3 separate regions of the Homo sapiens genome follow, and regions 2 and 3 are each linked to region 1. Evidence: promoter capture Hi-C in 16 types of primary human blood cells and fetal thymus (Javierre and others, 2016). All regions are on one chromosome and are shown on one strand. Each heading gives the region's core, a stretch centred on a gene start or on the middle of the fragment in contact. The rest is flanking DNA. Distances are from core to core; before and after follow the strand shown.

Region 1 (3,863 bases), core at 162-2,661:
GAGAGAGAGAGAGAGAGAGGAGAGAGAGGAGAGAGAGAGAGAGGGAGGGAGGGAGGGAGAGAGAGAGAGAGAGAAGAGAGAGAGGAGAGAGAGAGAGAGGGGGAGGGAGGGAGGGAGGGAGGGAGGGAGGGGGAGAGAGAGAGAGAGAGAGAGAGAGAGAGAGAGAGAGAGAGAGAGAGTCTGCAAGCCCACCATGATGGTCTCTCAAGCCCGCTCAGACATCTGCCCACCATCCACTGCAAGCCTCTTTCAAATGGTCACTTCCTATTATAAGGTTAAACTATAATCAACAAATCCCTTTCTTTCTCCTAACTCAAAACTGTAGTTTCCCATCTCCTTAAAGAAAAGGCACTATCCACCATTTGCTTTCTATTGTTAAAAGGGGCAATGCGTATCTTCTTTTCTTTATGGCACAATTATTAATATTACTCAGAAAGTCCTACCTTTACAAGTTATAATAAGTATCAACATTTATTTGAAATCATACTGTAAAATTTAAAAGGCATCCATATTTATGTTTTATTCTCACAATGACATCTCCAGGTCTTCAAACGGAAGACTACGACACAAATGGCCTGCCTTCACCGTGCTGCAATTTCTTCAACAGGTAACTTGCTTAGCCTGTGCTACGTATTCATACTGCACGTGGATGTCACTGAATGTCCTTTCTCTTCCAATACATATCTGTATCTAAAAGCACACGGTTTGCTTGCAGATTTTCTTCCTTCCCTTCTCCTCCCTATGGGAAGCTGCCCACTCCACCCCGAAAACACTGTCCCCCAAAGCAAGGGGACGCGCTGCACCCTCGGCTGTCACCGCGAGGGCTCGGCGCGCATGCGCGGCGCGAGCGGCCGGGCCCCACAGCCGCAGGTCGTTGGTAAGGCGGGTCCGCGGACCCCAGGTCGAGCCCAGCGGCAGTGCAGGATCGCAAGCGGCCCGGCACCGGCGCCGCAGGTTGTTGGCAAGCCTGGTCCGGGGTTTTAGGTTGAGCCCAAGCGGCAATGCGGGATCGCCACCGGGCCGCGCGGGCTTGGGAGGGTGACGCCCGCGAGGACACTGCGGCGTCCGGGGCGGGCGGGCACACTCACAATTTCAGCATCCACTCGCCCTCCATCACCAGCGTCCAGTTGGAGGCGGTCATGGGCTGGACCCGGCTCTGCTCCGGCGGCAGCGCGGCCTCCTCGGGGCCTGCCGTCGCCGCCACAGCCGCGATCCAGGCGGCCAGGAGCGCCGTTAGCTGCGGGCCGCAGCGCCCACCCGCCATGTTGGGCGCCGAGCGAGGCTTCTCGGCGGGGAGTGTGGGGAAGGGCAGCGGCCGGCCCGCAGCCTCGCTCGCCCGCCGGGTTTTTCAAGGAAGCGGGAGACGCAAGGGCCACCCCGCCTACGCCTAGCGGCGCAGACTGGCGGTGCTCGCAATGCCGCGGAGGACGCCACCTCTTATCGCCGCTTGCCCGTCGAGGCCACGCCCCCTCCCGCCTCCACTTGCCGTTGCCCGGGGTGTCGGTTACCTCAGCAACCACCGCCCTTTCTTCCTGACCGCCAAGCTGACAATAAACAGATGACCCAACGTTGCCTAAGTTAGAACATGCACCGCTGCTGCCCAGGCTCCAATAAGGGCAGGGTTGGCGCGTGTGGGCTTCTCTAAAGGGAAACATGGCCAGTAATTTTAAAATCCATCCCCTCTTCAATGATAGCAAATATAAAAGCAACGGGCTGCAAGGTACACGTATGTTTAATGAAAAATGGAGGGACGTGGTGAGTATCTCCTGCTGAAGAGAGAGGAAAATTTAAGTACTCTGCATGTGTATATTGAAGCATCACTAATTTAGGATATTGATGAAACTAGCCTATGCAATTGCATTTTTTTTACAAAAAATGTTAATTTCATAGAAACTCTTAAAAACATGGGTACTAGCCGATAAAATGAGTCAATTAAGACTATTGCCACCTGCAGTAAAATGGACCTCACATTTCTCTTGACTACAGTTTTGTCAGATCTAAAATGAGGGTAGCCTTAAGTGATTTCCAAATTTCTTTCCAGGTCACATTAGATGAATCTGTACCTTGGGACCACCACACCGTTAATATATAAGACTGGATTACAATTAAAGGATGAGGAAGCTTTCTCAAAGGGTGCTTTGTATGTGTTTACTAGTTGTGCAAACCATGAACCTCGGTAATGTGGTTAATAGACCATGAAAAGGATGTGGTTTCTGCCCTCGGCTTAAAACAAAGACAGCAATAAGACTAAAAGTACTTCAGGGCACATGAGAGCAAATTTCAATCAATACTTATAGGAGAGGGAAGTTAATTTTGCCTGAAGAGAAGATCTGGCCTGCATTATGCATTAATTAGTATTAGCTAAAAACTATGTGGACCTAGCCCTTATCATTAAAATAAAACACTCAAGGGTTTACAAACTATTGAAATTTAAGAAAATGTCTTTGCAATGAATGCTACTAAGACTCACTGTTATTAAGTACATACATATCAATTCCATAAACTCAATGGAAAACATTTTACTGTGCTTGTAAAAAGAAGTGACTCATAAACAGGAATTCTGTCATTTTATCACTTTCATGATAGAATGATGTGTAGAATTTGTTTTACAATGCTCCAGAAATAAAATGTAGGGAATGGAAAGAAGATAGGTGAAAGAAAAGTGGTGCAACATCAGTCAGTGTTGAAGCTAAGTTCATTTTGCTACTTTACCTACTCATGCATATGTTGGAAAATTTACAAAATGAAAAGCTAAAAGGAGAGAGAGCATCTTCAGCATGAAAGACAGCCATTACCAAAGCATTTCCTATCTTTAACAAAAACTGAAGTCTTAGCCTTCAGACTAAGGATGGTAGGAAGAAAGTAGCAAGGAAGTATGGGACTGACCTTGCCGTAAGGAGTCACAGACCAGGGTAAGGGACCTGTTGCTGTCAGACCATGATTGGCATCTTAGCCCTGACACTTCCTAGCCATGTGATTTGGGGCTAAAACTAGTCCACACCAAAGTTCTCTTAAAATGCGGGTAGTAATAGAACCTGCTCCAAAAGGTGGCTGTGAAGATTATATGAGATAAGAATAATGCCTAGCACATATTCTAACTCAAAAAGCTTACATATTAGGTTGGTGCAAACATAATTGTGGTTTTTGCCACAATATTGCCAACACTAATATTATTATTTGGAGGCAACAATACGCTGTAATGTCTATTTTTCTTATACTAAAGTTAACTTCACTTAGCATGATACACAATGCCTCTCACAGCCCAGCTTCAGTTTTGCCCACTTTACATTCCACTATTCCCAGAGTTCCCTGTGTCCTAGTAACACAAAGCTACTCCCCATTCCCAAAGCACATTGTGTACTTCAGTGTCTCCTTGCTCCTTCATTCTGATTAGAACACTCTTCTCCAGTTGTCCAGTGAATCATTCAGTCTCTGTCATGTAGTCCACACTGTACCTCTGATAGCTCATGCAGAATGAGCTGCTGTCTCTTCTCAGATCCAATTGCTCTTCTGTATAACTGATATGGTTTGGCTCTGTGTCCCCATCCAAATCACATTTTGTAGCTCCCCTAATTCCCACGTGTTGTGGGAGGGACCCCATGGGAGATAATTGAATCATGGGGGCGGGTCTTTCCCATGTTGTTCTCGTGATAGTGAATAAGTCTCATGAGATCTGATGGTTTTAAAAATGGTAATTTCCCTGCACAAGCTGTCTCTCTTTTGGCCTGCTGCCATCCGCGTAAGACATGACTTACTCCTCCGTGCCTTCCACCATGATTGTGAGGCTTCCCCAGCCATGAGGAACTGTGAGTTGAATAAACACTTTTTCCTGTATAAATTACCCCGTCTCGGGTATGTCTTTA
Region 2 (4,342 bases), core at 874-3,373, 5.2 Mb after region 1:
TCCTAATTCAGACCAGCCTGCCTCTGGCAATAGGAAAGTCATTTGTTCCTGCGAGCCCGTATCATAATCTGGCACAACTGGAGGTTAGAACAATCCTTAAAACTCTTTGGCTGTGGGATTCTAGTTTGCCATCTTAATTTATACATTCTATTTCGGCGCTGATTCTCCAGCCCTTTCCCTTTTAAGTGATCCTAATTAGAAAACACACAGGAGGATCCTTCCAGGATTTAAAAGCTGCTGGGATCCCCTCTTTGATCTCCCATCTGAAATACGGACGGTTATTGTTTCGCGTTTCCCCCCACTCCCCCCGACCCGCACTCCAGTGACAATTATTGGCATTTTAGAGCCTAGAGATAGAAATAAGATGTCTGACAGGCCCGGCTGCCTAAAAATCCAAAGCAAGCACCCCTCCAAACATCTCCCCTCCTCCCTCGCACCGTTCCCCACCCAAAAAAAAATAATGAAAAGGAAAAAATATAGCAGACTCTATAAACAGCTGCCAATTTATTAATAAGATGCTGGAGTTAGTTAGAATTTTAAAGATGCTTCAGGCATCTTTAAGGAGGCAGCAAGCCCTTCCTCTCCCGGGCACAAATAAGCCCAACCAGCAGACCCTACCTTAACTACCGCTATTTAAATTCTGCAAAGTACCGCGGTGACCGGAGGAACCTTCGCAAAGGCGCAAGGGTTTGCCTTAATTTGGTTAATACTTGGTTGAGATGCCTTGCGAGAACTCGAAAGCAGTTGAATTAAGAATCTTAAATCTTTCTAGGACGCGGAGAAGGAAGGTAGGAAATTGGGGAGGGGGAAAGGGAGGCGTGCCGTCAAGAAAGAGTTGATTATTTATTTAATTTCATTCACCAAGGGAGAATTCGGAGGCTCCATCCCGGAGGCACTGGGGTCCGGGACGCGGGAAAGGCTTGGAAATGTGCGACGCGGCTGTGTGCGAACGCGTGGACTAGGTCTTGGCTCGCTGGGAGGGAAGGGCTGGGCCGGCGCTGGGGAGGAGGAAGGGAGGGAACGGGTAGGAGGAGGGGAAGCGCAGTATAAAAGTCCCGGCCGGACTGAGCGTCCGCTACTCCGAGTCACTTCGGTAAGGCGGGAGCCCGAGCAAGGTCAAGGAGGGAAGTGCGCGGTGCCACGGACCGACACAGTTCGCTCTAGCATCTGACGCTCGGACTCCGCGCCCTCAGCCGGATCCCAGAGCCCTTCCATTCGCCAACCGCCCACTGCAAGGCATGAGCCGCACGCGGGAGCCCGAGGCTGCAGCGCGGTCATGAGGCGGTGGCCCGGGATCGACAGCTGCGCGACGCCAGCCCCCAAATCCCCTCTGGGCGCGGCACCCCCGGGATGAGCCCCCCACAGAGGCAAGCCCACTAGAGCTGAGATTCACTCCGAGTTCCTGAGCGCCTGAGCCGCGGGCACTGCGTCTCTGCAGCTTCCAGCCAACACCTGCGCCCGTGACCAGACGAACGCCTAGAGAGTCGGACTCCCCTCCCTTCCCAGGCTCTACGGGGCGCCGCGGATCCGCGAACAGCCGTGCCCGGCTAGCGGGCGGCCCAGCAAGTGTCAAGACCCTTCGGAACGACACTTTGGCACTCCTCCTCTCCCCCGACTGCTTCAGGCAGGGGTCGCAGGCAGACGCATGGCTTGTCCGGCGCCCCCTCCGTTTTCCATCACTGCAACTCCAGCTCCAGTTTGCCAATAAAGGTTTCTAAAGCAGCCCAGGCACCACCCCACCCACCCACAGCCCCGAGCCTCAGTGTGCACAAGGGCTCTACCCGCGCCCGTCACAGCGACCTCGGCAGCGGGCACTTGGTACAGCCCGGCAGGCTGACGCTGCCGCCGAGGGCGCCCCGGCTACCGCCAAACCGTGACAACCTCGGTGTGCCCGGGGCCCCCATCTGGAACCGGCCCTCCCCGGGACTCCGAGTGCGGGGCGGCGCGGCAGGCGGCCCCGAGGAGCGCGGAGAGTAGTGGAGGTGGCTTGCCGGGTGAGTGGCTCGGGGCGGCGAGGGCGGGGGCGCCAAGCGTGGAGGTAACTCCCGGCCGCAGCTGAAGCCCTCCTACTCCTCCTCCTCCTCCTCCTCCTCCTCCTCCTCCTCCTCCTCCTTCTCCTTCTCCTCCTCCTCCTCCCCGCGCTTCTCTGGCGGCCGCTCCCGCTCCAGCTGCGGCGCCGCGGCCACATCTGGGGCGCCCATGTGCGCTCGGGGGCTCGGCTGCGCCCGCCCCGCCGCCGACCCCGCAGCCCCCTGCCAGCAGGGTGGCCTCCGGCCCGGCCCGGGTCCCGGGCTGTCCCGGGACCCAGTCTCCGTCTCCGCCGCCGCCGCCGCCAGGCAGCGCCGGGGCTTGCTCCGCAGCCGGCTTGGACACCCCCGGCCTCGCGGTGGCTCCGCCGTGGTGCGGCGGCGGCGGCGGCGGCGGCGCCGGCAGCTCCTGCTCCCCCGGCCCCGCACACCCCGCCGCGCCCAGCGCCAGCCCCGCGGGCCCGGGAAGCGGAGCCCTGGCGGGAGCCGAGGCGGGAGCCGCGCTGCCGGGCTCCCGGGCTCCTACTCCTCCTCCCCCGGCGTCACCGCCGCCGCCGCCGGCCGCCGCGCCGGGTCCTAAAGCCGCGCGTCTCAAAAGGATGGTGCGCCTGGCGGCCGAGCTGCTGCTGCTGCTGGGGCTGCTGCTGCTCACGCTGCACATCACCGTGCTGCGCGGCTCGGGAGCCGCCGACGGGCCCGACGCGGCCGCGGGCAACGCCAGCCAAGCCCAGCTGCAGGTGAGTGCGCCGCCGGAGAGGGCCGTGCGCGGCTGCGGGGACGGTTTGTGGGGCGGGGGTGCTGAGCTAGTGCCGGGTGGATGCAGGGAGGCAGGTCCCCTGCCCCACCTAAGAGCAACTGTTTTGGCAGTAGTTTTGCCCGGGCCACTTGACTTAGGCAGAGGCGGAGCGGGGGCACGTGCCTGGAGGCTGCACCCGGCTTCCAGGTCTGCGGGCTGCGCTCCTTCAGTTCTGTCTGTCACGGGTCAGGTGCGGGGTTGGTGGGGAGGTGGGAAGGAGCGAGGTTTGGGATGAGCAGAGGAAGTGTGGAGAATGTGCTTGCTTGGGGGTGCTACCAGTCTTTCGTTGCCCTTCGGAGGCTGAGTAATGTTACTCGAGGCTGGAGGGACGCAAGGAGACTTTATAGGATGATATCCCTGAAGTCTTTGGGAGAAAGAACTCCGGGAGTCTACCCCTTTAGGAAGCAATGCCAAAGGTCAGGACATAATTTCCCAAGGAGAATAGCCAGGCATCCCCTCCTCACCCTCAGGGTTCCCTTGCTTCCAGTGTTCCTCTTCCTCCGGGAGCCTCGCCTGAGGTTCCCCCCTCCCCCCTTGTGCCCCCTTGGTCATGGGGAAGGTGCAGAGTGAAGGCACCGGTAGTGATTTGGGCCAGGGTTACCTGGGGCTTTTAAACTTGTAGCAAAGTCTTTCTCCCAAGGATCTTCCCCGTTGAAGGTCGCTTTAGCAATGGGATTCTGTTTATCCATTTCAACTTCAGGGCAAGGAGAGGGCGTAGTGGACGGTCAGACATAATGTGAGTTCTGACTTAGGAATAGAATTGCCCAGCTAGGCATTTCCTGCCGCTATGTTAGCGCCTTTCCTTGAGTCTAGGGGTGGGACAACTGTAAACTTGGAGCATAGGCAAAAGCAAGCAGGGATTTTCCCAGGAGGCAGAGGGGATTCTCTGGCTCCTAAAATCTGCTCAAACCAGGCGCGGTGGCTCACGCCTGTGATCCCAGCACTTTAGCAGGCAGAGGCGGGTGGATCACCTCAGGCCAGGTGTTGGAGACTATCCTGGCCGACATGGTGAAACCCCGTCTCTACTAAAAATACAAAAATTAGCTGGGCGTGGTGGCGCACGCCTGTAGTCCCAGTTACTCGGGAGGCTGAGGCAGGAGAATTGCTTGAACCCGGGAGGTTGTAGTGAGCTGAGATCGCGCCACTGCACTCCAGCCTGGGCGACAGAGCGAGACTCCGTCTCAAAAAAAAAATAAAATAAAATAAAATAAAATAAAATAAATAAATAAATAAATAAAATGAAATAAGCATTATTCATTGTTCCCAAAGGCCTTTATATTCATTGTCTTTGATAATTCACTTTTTACATCTTTATACAATTTATTGCGAAAAACTTTACCGTAAAGAGAAAACTAATAAAACACTTCCATTGTGTTTACTACGTGCCACCGTTTTAAGTACTTTACAGAATTTAACTCACTTAATTTAACCATAATCTTACAAGACATGGTACTGTTAATATAGCCTCATTTACAGATGCAAAAACTGAGGTACAGAGAGGTTAAAAAACTTGTCAAAG
Region 3 (4,366 bases), core at 421-2,920, 5.2 Mb after region 1:
AAAAGGAACTGGCTCCATGGTCCTCCTTCAAAGCTCAATTGTAGACATATATCTTCTTTATAGGACATCGTTTACAATAAAGAGGAGCAATAACTTAAAATTTAAAAAAAAGAATACTTTTGAGAGCACTGTGAGGTGGACATTCCATTTAATAAACATCACTGTGGTTACATTGCCCAAACATTCCCAGAAGTCCAGCCATGGGCCTGAGAGACTTCTACTGGACATGGTGACTTTTGGGGACTAATTTGAATTATATTTTTATGCTCTAGCCCTCTCCCTAGGCTCTGAAAGTTCTTGAGAAGGTCATTAATGAGAGGCAATCTACTTCAAACCAGAGGGCCACCTCACTAAAATCAGGCAAAATGGCAAAATTCATAGCCCATTACTCATTAACTTATTTGGAGCTGCCCTTCAGTAGGGTAAACATTTTTTTAAGGGTTGGGGCCAAATTAAACTCCTGGATCGATTATACATAGTTCCCCAATACCCACATGGACATCACTCCACATAATTCCAGTGTGAAAATCTCACAGACTTATTAGCATTTCCAGATACTAGAACTCAACTAGAAAACAACAAAGTTGTTTTTATGCCTATCAGAAAATGAAGAATGTTATTAACTTTCCAAGAAGGAAAAAAGTAAAATTATTTATAATATACAGGATGTTTTTGGCTTCACATGGAGTCTGACCCAGGTGGTGGAGAAAGTCACATCTACGATCAAAATGACCAGCCTCCTGAAAACTGACCAATCCAGAATAATCCTTTCAGGTTCACTCATGATAGCAGTTGATCAGCCCATAGAGGATACAACGTTCTAAAGAGTGGGCAAGTCATCCACTTCTGTTTAACCCATTACTCCTGAAAAGGTTCAGCTCTCCATACTTTGCTGGAAAAAGGCTAACAACTCAGTGCATCCTTCCCTCTCTGCTCCCCTCACTGGTACATTCAGGAAGACACGAACCAGGTGAGACAACTGAGAGCTCCTTACTGAGAGTGTGAAGTGTGATGGTGGCACAACATGCAATTCCGAAGACATCATGAAATGAGATAAATCTGGGGAATCCACATCAACTAGAAAAAAACTGGAAACATTTGAAGAGGCATTGGGATCACAAAGAGAGTGAATCTAAACATTGAACAGCAGGTATTAAATAGAAATAATGAAAGGCAAGTTCTCAGGAAAAAATCTGTGGCAGACTAGGTATTCGAAGTTCTGTTCCAGGTTCTCCCCAGGGACTCATTGCCCTGAAACTCTGTCTGGTGTGGTTCTCTCATGCCCCACAATGGTTCTTTCACTTCTTATTCACCAAGGCCAGGATTAATGCTAAGGTCTGGACGAACCCAATAATGGGCATGAATGGCCTTGGCCTTAAGTTTTCAGGGATCCATCTGCAGGGTCCTCCCTGAGATCTGAGAAGGGTTTTACTTACTTCTTTCATCTTAAGGTGAATGCTAGTGGGGGAATTATTGTGGTGTGCCCCAAGAACGTTCTGTGTCTTGGTCCTGACAATCTACATGAAGTACCTTTTGTGCCACCAGGATACGTGGGCACATGACAGGTACTCACATACACAAGGGTCACTGCACATGGCTGCAGGAATGCCCAGGTTGGACCGGGGCTTCATCTGTGCTCCAACCCACCTGCACTCCATGGTGAGGCACTCTGTTTAGAAGGCAGGTTGCAGACACTCACCAAATTCTAGAATGTTGTTGTAGGCAAGAAAGCCAAGCCCCAATGTCTCATTTCATTGACAAAGAATCTAAAACCTGGAGAAATTAAAAGATTTGGCTAAGACCATACCATTCATTTATCCTACAGCCAGTACCAGACTCCAAAGCAAGTCATCTTTCATGAAGCCACACAATCCCCCATTTCTGAACATCTGTAAAAGTTTTTATAGCCCCACTTAGCTAAAGAGAATTAGAGTAAGTGTACATCTAAAGTGCTGGGATCCTGCTACATGGTGGTTGCTCTTAGGTTGTTACAGGAGCAGAAAGGTAATTAAATGGACATGAATTGTCTCTTTTATTTAATATACAACCAAACTGCAGTAAGGCAAATGAAATAATGTACATATAAGCATTGAGCACTGCCCAGCCACATGGCATTCTACAATTCCATTCATTCATTCAGCACTTTCATATCGCGTGGCTGTGATCAGCAGATATTGTGCTAGGCACTGGAGATTCAATAGAGAACAAGCTTATGTTCTAGAAAGAAAACTGACAATAATTGATTCAGAATAAAGGAATTATTATAGATTGTGATAGGTGCTTAGCAGGACATAAACAGGGAGCAAAAGATAGGGAATAACTGGGAGTTCCTACTAAAAGAGGGTGGTCAAGGAAGGACTTGATGGAAAAGTGACACTTGAGTCCTGAGCTGGGGGAATAAAAGGACCAGCTCTGCAAAGAACTCAGGAGAGCCAGTCAGGCAGACGGAATCACAAACACCAAAGCCTTGAGATAGGAAGGACTTTGGCATGACTAAGGGATGGAAAAGAGACTGGAGAACAGTGTGTAAGGAAGAAAGTGGCACATGAACTTGCAGAAAAAAGCAAGGATTTTGCAGGTCATGATAAAGAATATGGCTGTTCTAGGATTGGTGAGGAAGCAGCCATTGAAGAGCTTCTAAATGATGGCTCCATCTGATCAGTGGATAATGAGAGGGAAGAACATAGATATGTTAGAAAATTTCACAATAATTCAGGTAAGAGGTGATGGGATGTGGACCAGGGTAGAGAAGAGTGGATGGATGCAAGGCACAGTTCTGAGACAGAGCCAACAGGATATGCTGTTGGATTGCATTTCAGAGTTAAGAAGTGAAGAGTCAAAGACAGCTTCCAGTTTCACAAGGGTAGAGTTCATGTCAGTGGATTTATATGGGACATGTGGAATATGAGATGCCTCTGGGACATGTAAGTGAAGATAATAGCAGGGAGGCTGTGAAGTGGACAGGGAGCTGAGAGTGAGGTGTCATGATGAAAGTGGTAAAAGGAGAACCAAGAGGTGTGTCACAGAAGCCAGGGGAGAAGAATGCCTTAAGGAGAGAGGACTTCTATCGAATGCTGCTGTGAGAACAAAAAAGATGAGGCCAGAGAAGTGCTCATTCAACTGGGCAACGCAGCCATGACTGGTGACCTGAATGAGGTCACCAACTGCTCTGCAGTTGCAGAGGCATCATGGGAACAGACTCCAGTGTCTATTGGGTAAAGGAACAAATGGAAGGTGAGGAAATGGAGACAGAATATACAAATAAGTCTTGCAAAAGTTTTACTATAAAAAGGGGAGATATATGAACATGTGGTCAAAAAAGAGTTTTTGGTTCATGTAAGATCAGAGATACCAGGGCATCTGTGAGGCTGATGAGAACGATCCAATAGAAAGGGAGAGATTGATGATGCAAAACTGAGAGAGGAGAAATGAGGAGTGAATTCTTCAAGAAGGCAAGGGGCTATGTGTGAGCATTGGCCTTTCACAGAAGCAGGAAAGCTTGTTCTGTGTAACAATTGGGAAGAGAAAGAAAATGAGCTATGCAGACAGGAGTATAAATAGAGTGATGGTAATAAAAGAGTTACCATCTCATGACTCCTGTTCCATCAGTGAAATATGAAGTGAGGGCAGGAGCACAAGTAGGACGTTTGAGGAGAGAAGATATAAAATGGTCATCTTGGATACTGGAGCAAGTAAGGTTGTGAAGGAAGGGCAGTTGGATTTTGGAACAGTGCTTAGTATTCATTTGAGGGTTTGAGGACATGAATCTAAAATAAAGCAAGTTTGTCAAGTTGGATGCTTTTATTGTTCCCATCACCCACCTGCTTGGCTACTAACCTACAGAAGTTGGATCACTGAGTTCAACCAAAATGGAGGTGTTGCCAGTCAAATATATAAGGAGAAGAGAAAGGGGCAAGCAGAGTTGAGGGCCGTTGCAAGGAAATGATTAAAATAAAAGAACACTTGTTGAAGAAGGAAAGTAAAAACAAGAGAAGGCTGAAGGGAGGTGAGAAAATGGCAGTGGCTTGGAGATCTCAATGAGTTTTAAAACTGGAAAAATGAGTTAAAAGAATGGAAAGTGTCTTTATGTAGAAGGTTTACTGACAAAAGGTCTAGGGAAGAGGGTGGTTGAGATGCAGTAGAGGGAAAGGGTATGGGAGGTGAGGAGGTCCAAGAACTGGGGAGGTCATCTACATGGATGTTGAAGTCACCAAAAAGGACAACAGGAGGTCAATGGTAAAGAAGACTAAGCCAGAAGCTGGGCTTTTAGATGAACGGAGAATGACCAGAAACTCCACAGAGCAGTTGGAACATCCAGCATCTTGAAAGGAGCAGGATTTGTTTGTTCAGTTTTTGTTTTTATTTT

What was found. The method cuts DNA at HindIII sites, captures the fragments that hold promoters and counts their contacts. A CHiCAGO score of 5 or more calls a contact.
Region 2: the fragment with the promoter of ISM1 here is called in contact with the fragment with the promoter of TMX4 in region 1 in 1 of 17 cell types (total CD4 T cells); the score reaches 5.2 in total CD4 T cells.
Region 3: the fragment with the promoter of ISM1-AS1 here is called in contact with the fragment with the promoter of TMX4 in region 1 in 1 of 17 cell types (total CD4 T cells); the score reaches 5.9 in total CD4 T cells.

What each region holds. Positions count from the first base shown.
Region 1 is chr20:8,018,350-8,022,212 of GRCh38, forward strand. It overlaps TMX4 (thioredoxin related transmembrane protein 4), which reads right to left and starts at 1,412. Exons shown (of 8, transcript NM_021156.4): 1 at 1,089-1,412. The coding sequence starts at 1,264. TMX4-AS1 (TMX4 antisense RNA 1) reads left to right here and starts at 1,557. Exons shown (of 7, transcript NR_184034.1): 1 at 1,557-1,755; 2 at 2,042-2,912; 3 at 3,710-3,806. RefSeq lists silencers at 923-1,062, 1,173-1,412. The HindIII fragment of the contact is 3,626 bases long and covers 1-2,119 here.
Region 2 is chr20:13,219,151-13,223,492 of GRCh38, forward strand. ISM1 (isthmin 1) reads left to right here and starts at 2,124. Exons shown (of 6, transcript NM_080826.2): 1 at 2,124-2,764. The coding sequence starts at 2,627. It also overlaps a transcript of TASP1 not described here. RefSeq lists silencers at 1,907-2,026, 2,486-2,555. The HindIII fragment of the contact is 8,964 bases long and covers 1-4,342 here.
Region 3 is chr20:13,238,017-13,242,382 of GRCh38, forward strand. ISM1-AS1 (ISM1 antisense RNA 1) reads right to left here and starts at 1,671. Exons shown (of 3, transcript NR_040043.1): 1 at 1,437-1,671; 2 at 968-1,088; 3 at 1-93. The region is part of intron 1 of ISM1 (isthmin 1); the gene reads left to right. It also overlaps a transcript of TASP1 not described here. The HindIII fragment of the contact is 6,320 bases long and covers 1-2,207 here.